2 separate regions of the Homo sapiens genome follow, and region 1 is linked to region 2. The links are contacts of gene promoters, found by promoter capture Hi-C in human tissues and cell types (Jung and others, 2019). All regions are on one chromosome and are shown on one strand. The core of a region is centred on a gene start or on the middle of the fragment in contact, and the rest is flanking DNA. Distances in the headings are between cores, read along the strand shown. Region 1 overlaps GRB2 (growth factor receptor bound protein 2). Region 2 holds the start of CDR2L (cerebellar degeneration related protein 2 like).

The links. Contacts are between HindIII fragments. The study calls those that stand out against the background at their distance.
Region 1: a contact is called between a fragment that was not itself captured here and the fragment with the promoter of CDR2L in region 2, in 1 of the 25 tissues and cell types used here (aorta).

Annotation. Positions count from the first base shown.
Region 1 is chr17:75,375,680-75,378,379 of GRCh38, forward strand. All of the region lies in intron 2 of GRB2 (growth factor receptor bound protein 2), which reads right to left. Among named protein-coding and RNA genes, the nearest start is that of GRB2, 29 kb to the right of the region's middle. The HindIII fragment of the contact is 7,732 bases long and covers 1-2,700 here.
Region 2 is chr17:74,986,291-74,988,990 of GRCh38, forward strand. It overlaps CDR2L (cerebellar degeneration related protein 2 like), which reads left to right and starts at 1,342. Exons shown (of 5, transcript NM_014603.3): 1 at 1,342-1,832. The coding sequence starts at 1,754. RefSeq lists an enhancer at 1,180-1,681 and silencers at 1,248-1,327, 1,348-1,437. The HindIII fragment of the contact is 16,458 bases long and covers 1-2,700 here.

The sequences.
Region 1 (2,700 bases), core at 140-2,639, 390 kb after region 2:
GAGACCATCTTGGCAAATATGGTGAAACCTCGTCTCTACAAATATACAAAAAGTACTGGGGACTGGCCGGGCGCAGTGGCTCAAGCCTGTAATCCCAACACTTTGGGAGGCAGAGGCAGGTGGATCACGAGGTCAGGAGATCGAGACCATCCTGGCTAACACGGTGAAACCCTGTATCTACTAAAAATACAAAAATTTAGCCGGGCGTGGTGGTGGGCGCCTGTAGTCCCAGCTACTCGGGAGGCTGAGGCAGGAGAATGGCGTGAACCCAGGAGGCAGAGGTTGCAGTGAGCCAAGATTGCGCCACTGCACTCCAGCCTGGGCGACAGAGCAAGACTCCGTCTCAGAAAAAAAAAAAAAAAAAAAAAATTACCGGGGCCTGCATGAGCGCAGTGGCTCACGCCTGTAATCCCAGCACTTTGGGAGGCCAAGGCAGGCGGATTGGCTGAGCTCAGGAGTTTGAGACCAGCCTAGGCAACACGGTTAAACCCCATCTCTATTGAAATACAAGAAATCAGCCAGGCGTGTCGGCATGCGCCTATATAGTCCCAGCTACTTGGGAGGCTGAGGCAGGAGAATTGCTTGAACCTGGGAGGCAGACGTTGCAGTGAGCCGAGATTGTGCCACTGCACTCCAGCCTGGGTGACAGACAGAGACTCTGTCTCAAAAAAAAAAAAAAAAAAAAAAATTTTTTAACCCGACCTGGTGGCATGCTCCTGTAATCCCAGCTACTCAGGAGGCTGAGGCAAGAAAATCTCTTGAATGCGGGAGGTGGAGGCTGCAGTGAGCTGAGACTGCACTGCTGCATTTCAGCCTGGGCAACAGAGGGAGACTCTGTTTCAAAAAAAAAAAAAAAAGATTAGTGAAGCATGAACTTCTACTGATTGTCTTGCACATAGACATTTTTAGCCTGTATAACATAATTTGTAACCAACGATTATAACTTACATATTGTACCATCCAATGAAAAGACAACTCTGGTATGAGGAGGAGTACCCTTCCTTCTTTTAAACTTTCCTAAAAACCTTTCACAGGCCAGGCAAGGTGGCTTACACCTGTAATCTGTAATCCCAGCACTTTGGGAGGCCAAGGTGAGAGGATCCCTTAATCCCAGAAGTTTGAGACAAGCCTGGGCAACATAATGAGACTCCATCCCTACAAAACAAAACAAAACAAACAAACAAACAAAAACTAGTTGGGCATGGTGGTGGATACCTGTAGTTCCAGAGACTAGGGTGGGAGGATCAACTGAGCCTGGAATGTTGGGGCTGTACTGAGCCATGATTGTACCTCTGCACTCCAGCCTGGGTAAGAGAGCCAGACCCTGTCTCAAAAACATAAAGACAGACCTTCATAGCTGGGCCCAGTGACTCACATCTATAATCCGAGCTACTTGGGAGGCTGAGATGGGAGGATCACTCGAGACCAGCCTGGGCAACATAGTGACCCCCCGCTACAAAAAAAAAATATTAAAAGTTACATTTTTAAATATAATACAGGGTGTGGTGGTGCGCATCTGTAGTCCCAGCTACTGAGGAGACTGAGGTGAGATGATCACTTGAGCCCAGGAGTTCGAGGCTGCAATGAACTATGGTGGGGCCACCGTACTCCAGCCTGGGGTGACAGAATGAGACCCCATGTTTATTGCAAACAAAAAGTGGCCAGGCAGAGTGGTTCATGCCTGTAATCCCAACACTTTGGGAGGTCAAGGCAGGAGGACTGCTTGAGGCCATGAGTTCGAGATCAGCCTGGGCAACATGGCGGGATCTTGTTTCTACAAAATACAAAAAGTTAGCTGGGCATGGTGGTGCTCACCTGCTGTCCCAGCTACTCGGGAGGCTGAAGTGGATGAAGTGCTTGAGCCTAGGAAGTTGAGGCTGCACTCCAGCCCAGGCAACAGAGCGAGACCCTGTCTCAGAAAAAAAAAAAAAAAAAAAAAAAAAAAGGCTGGGTGTGGTAGTTCACGCCTGTAATCCCAGTACTTTGGGAGGCTGAGGCAGGTGGATCACTTCAGGTCAAGAGTTAGAGACCAGCCTGGCCAACATGGCAAAACCCTGTCTCTACTAAAAGTACAAAAATTAGCCGGGTATGGTGGCACACGCCTGTAGTCCCAGCTACTAGGGAGGCTGAGGTGGTAGAACTGCTTGAACCCGGGAGGCAGAGGTTGCAGTGAGCCAAGATCATGACACTACACTCTAGCCTGGGCAAGAGAGTAAGACTCTAAAAAAGAAAACAACCCACGAAGAAACAAACAGCAAAACAAAAACATCTTTCACCTTGTGACAGACTTCAGAACAACCCCCAAGTCTGCTGGTGTGTCTTCCCAGGTCGATTCTCATTTGCCAGGCCTTCCAATAAACCTTTATGAAATCATTTCTGCCTCAATAGTCTTAGTTTCAGTTGACAATATAAATCCCAAACCCAGGCCAGGTGCAGTGGCTCACGCCTGTAATTCCAGCACTTTGGGAGGCCGAGGTGGGGGGGAGGATCACCTGCAGTCAGGAGTTCGAGACCAGCCTGACCAACATGGTGAAACACCGTCTCTACTAAAAATACAAAAATGAGCTGAGCGTGGTGGTGGGCAGCTGTAATCCTAGCTACTTGGGAGGCTGAGGCAGGAGAATCACAGGAGGGCGGAGGTTGTAGTGAGCTGAGATCTCGCCACCGCATTTCAGCCTGGGCAACAGAGTGAGACTGTCT
Region 2 (2,700 bases), core at 92-2,591:
ATTTTTATTTTTAAATTTTTTTATAGAAATAGGATCTTGCTATGTTGCCCAGGCTGCTCTTGAACTCCAGGCTCAAGTGATCCTCCCAACCTCGGCCTCCCCAGAGTTCTGGGATTATAGGCATGAACCACCACGCCTGGCCTTTTTTTTTTTTTTTTTTTTCCCTAAAGCCACTCTGGTGATTGGGTAGTGATACCTCATTGTGGTTTTCATTTGCATTTTTCTGATGGCTAAAGAAGTTCAGTACCTTGTTGCATATTTATTCAGTTATTTGTGTATCCTTTTTTGTGAATTACCTGGTCAAATCTTTTACCCACTTTTCTACTGGGTTGCGTGCCTTTTTCTTATGACTATGCAGATGTTCTTTCTGTATTCTGGATACAAGTCATTCGTTGGGTATATCACAACATTATTCAGAGATTCTCAACGGCACCAGCACATTAGGGTCCCAATAAAAATGAGTTACGTGAATGCTTGAGTCCGAACACTCTTCTAAGGAAAGAATGCTTGGACAGATGCAAGTGTGTATAGTTTTAATGGGTATAATTGGATATAGGATATGGGTCCCAAGGAAAGGAAAACAGAACCTTGAATGCAGGTAACACACCCTCAAACTTTGCCACTTTCAGCCTGTGGTTTCTAGCCACAAGCACTTAAACACGCAGTTCCCAAAGGCAACTGTAAATTAGTATTCATTCATTCAAAGAATGTCGATGGAAGGTATCAATGACCAGCATGTTGTTTGTTTTTTGTTTGTTTGTTTTTTGAGGCAGAGTCTCCCTCTGTCGCCCAGGCTGGAGTGCAGTGGCGCTATCTTGGCTCACTGCAACCTCTGCCTCCAGGGTTCAAGCGATTCTCCTGCCTCAGCCTCCCGAGTAGGCATGCGCCACCATGCCCAGCTAATTTTTGTATTTTTAATGGAGACGGGGTTTCGCCATGTTGGCCAGGCTGGTCTCGAAACCCCTGACCTCAGGCGATCTGCCCGCCTTGGCCTCCCAAGGTGCTGGAATTACAGGAGTCAGGCATCGCGCCCGACTGGTGAGCAGCCTGTTCTAGGAAGTGAGTAGCCAGCTGTGAAAGAGAAACAATATTCTTGCTTCCAGGAGATCTAGGAGAGACGACAACTTCTAAAATAGCATAATTTTAGACATGAGACATAAACTGAATAGGTCGTAGGGGGAAGTAGGACGAAAGGGTTGATCAAGCAATTCCCAGACCAAGACACCAGGAGGGTCCCGCCCTCGGCCCCGCCTCCAGCTTTGCATACATCTCCTGATTGGTCGGCGGCGGCAGGCCCCACCCCGCGGAGCCGAGCTCCGCAAGCTGCAGGCGGGCTCCGCCAAGATGCAGCGGCGGCTCCGGTTGTCGCCGGGCGGGCCAGGAGCAGCGCGGACCCGAGCCGGGCAGGGGGCGCCCGCCACGGCACCCGCGCGCTCCTAGCGCCCCAGACCCGCCTGCGGGCCCGGATCCTCCTTGCCACTGTCCCACCCGCCGTCCCTGCCACTCCACCCTTTGTGTCGCCGCAGCCCGGTGCCCCCGGCTCTGCGGGACCCCGGCCGGGCCGGACCCTGGCAAAGCGCCAGGCCCCGCGTGGGCTCCCGGCGAGCGGTTGATGGCGAGGGGGCGCGGCGCGGGCTCTGTAGCCCGAGTTCCCGACGCTGGAGGCCCGGCCCGCCTCAGCCGCATTGTCCCGGGCCGCGCGCACCGGCCCTGAGCTGCGCCGCCGCAGCACCCGCCCGCCGCCCGCGGGGCCATGCGGAGAGCCGCCGGGATGGAGGACTTCTCCGCGGAGGAAGAGGAGTCCTGGTACGACCAGCAGGACCTGGAGCAGGGTGAGCGCGGGGGCGACCGGGACAGGAAGGCGGGGAGCGCCCGGTGACCCCTGTCCGCTTCTCCATTGTTGGGCGCTATCACCCCGGGAGGGGCTGGGCTGGACCGGGCGCGCCCGACTCGGAGGAGGGACGCGTCTGGAGAACCGGGACGTGGAGAGAGGGGGCGCTGCCGGAGAAGACGCGGACCGGACGGGCGGAGACCTGCAAAAGTGGGGGGCGGGGGGCGGTCTTCCTATTTTCCCAGACGACCGGGCATCCGTCATCCAGCTCGCCCACCCCGTCCTGGAGGCAGCAACTGCTCGGCCGCCCCTGGTATTGTTACGGGGCCTGAGCGCTAGCTAGGAGTCTTCTGAGGCCGGGAGGCGGCTCCTTCGTCATGTTTTGCTGGGAGGGTGGCTTGTGTGTAGAGGGAAGTTATCTCACGCCAAATCCAGCAGCACCCGTCCCTGACAGGAATTATGAGCTCTAAGACTCCTAGAAAGTTTCCCTAACTCGCTTCCTACTCAGGGAGAAGTGGTACCGCGTCTTTGCTGGTGAAGAAGCAGAAAGTCAAGTCTCCCATCTGCCTTCGAGAGTCAGGAGTCGCTTAGCCCTCCCCTGCCCGGTCCCCTTGCAAATGGCTCATGGTTTGGAGGGGGTCAGGTTCGGGAATCCCGGCCAGTGTGCCAGGCGAGAGACCGAATAAAGAGGGATACATCTCCGCTGCCCCCAGTTGCCATCTGAGGACAGAAAGGGCGACTGGAAGGGGGTTAGAAGCTGGTGATGAGGTGGCCGAAATGACATCACTGGGAGTGGGGGGTGGGGCTGTTGGGACAGAAAGGAAGAGGAGGCCTGCTGGAGTGGAGTCAGTTCTATCCTCTCCTCCCCT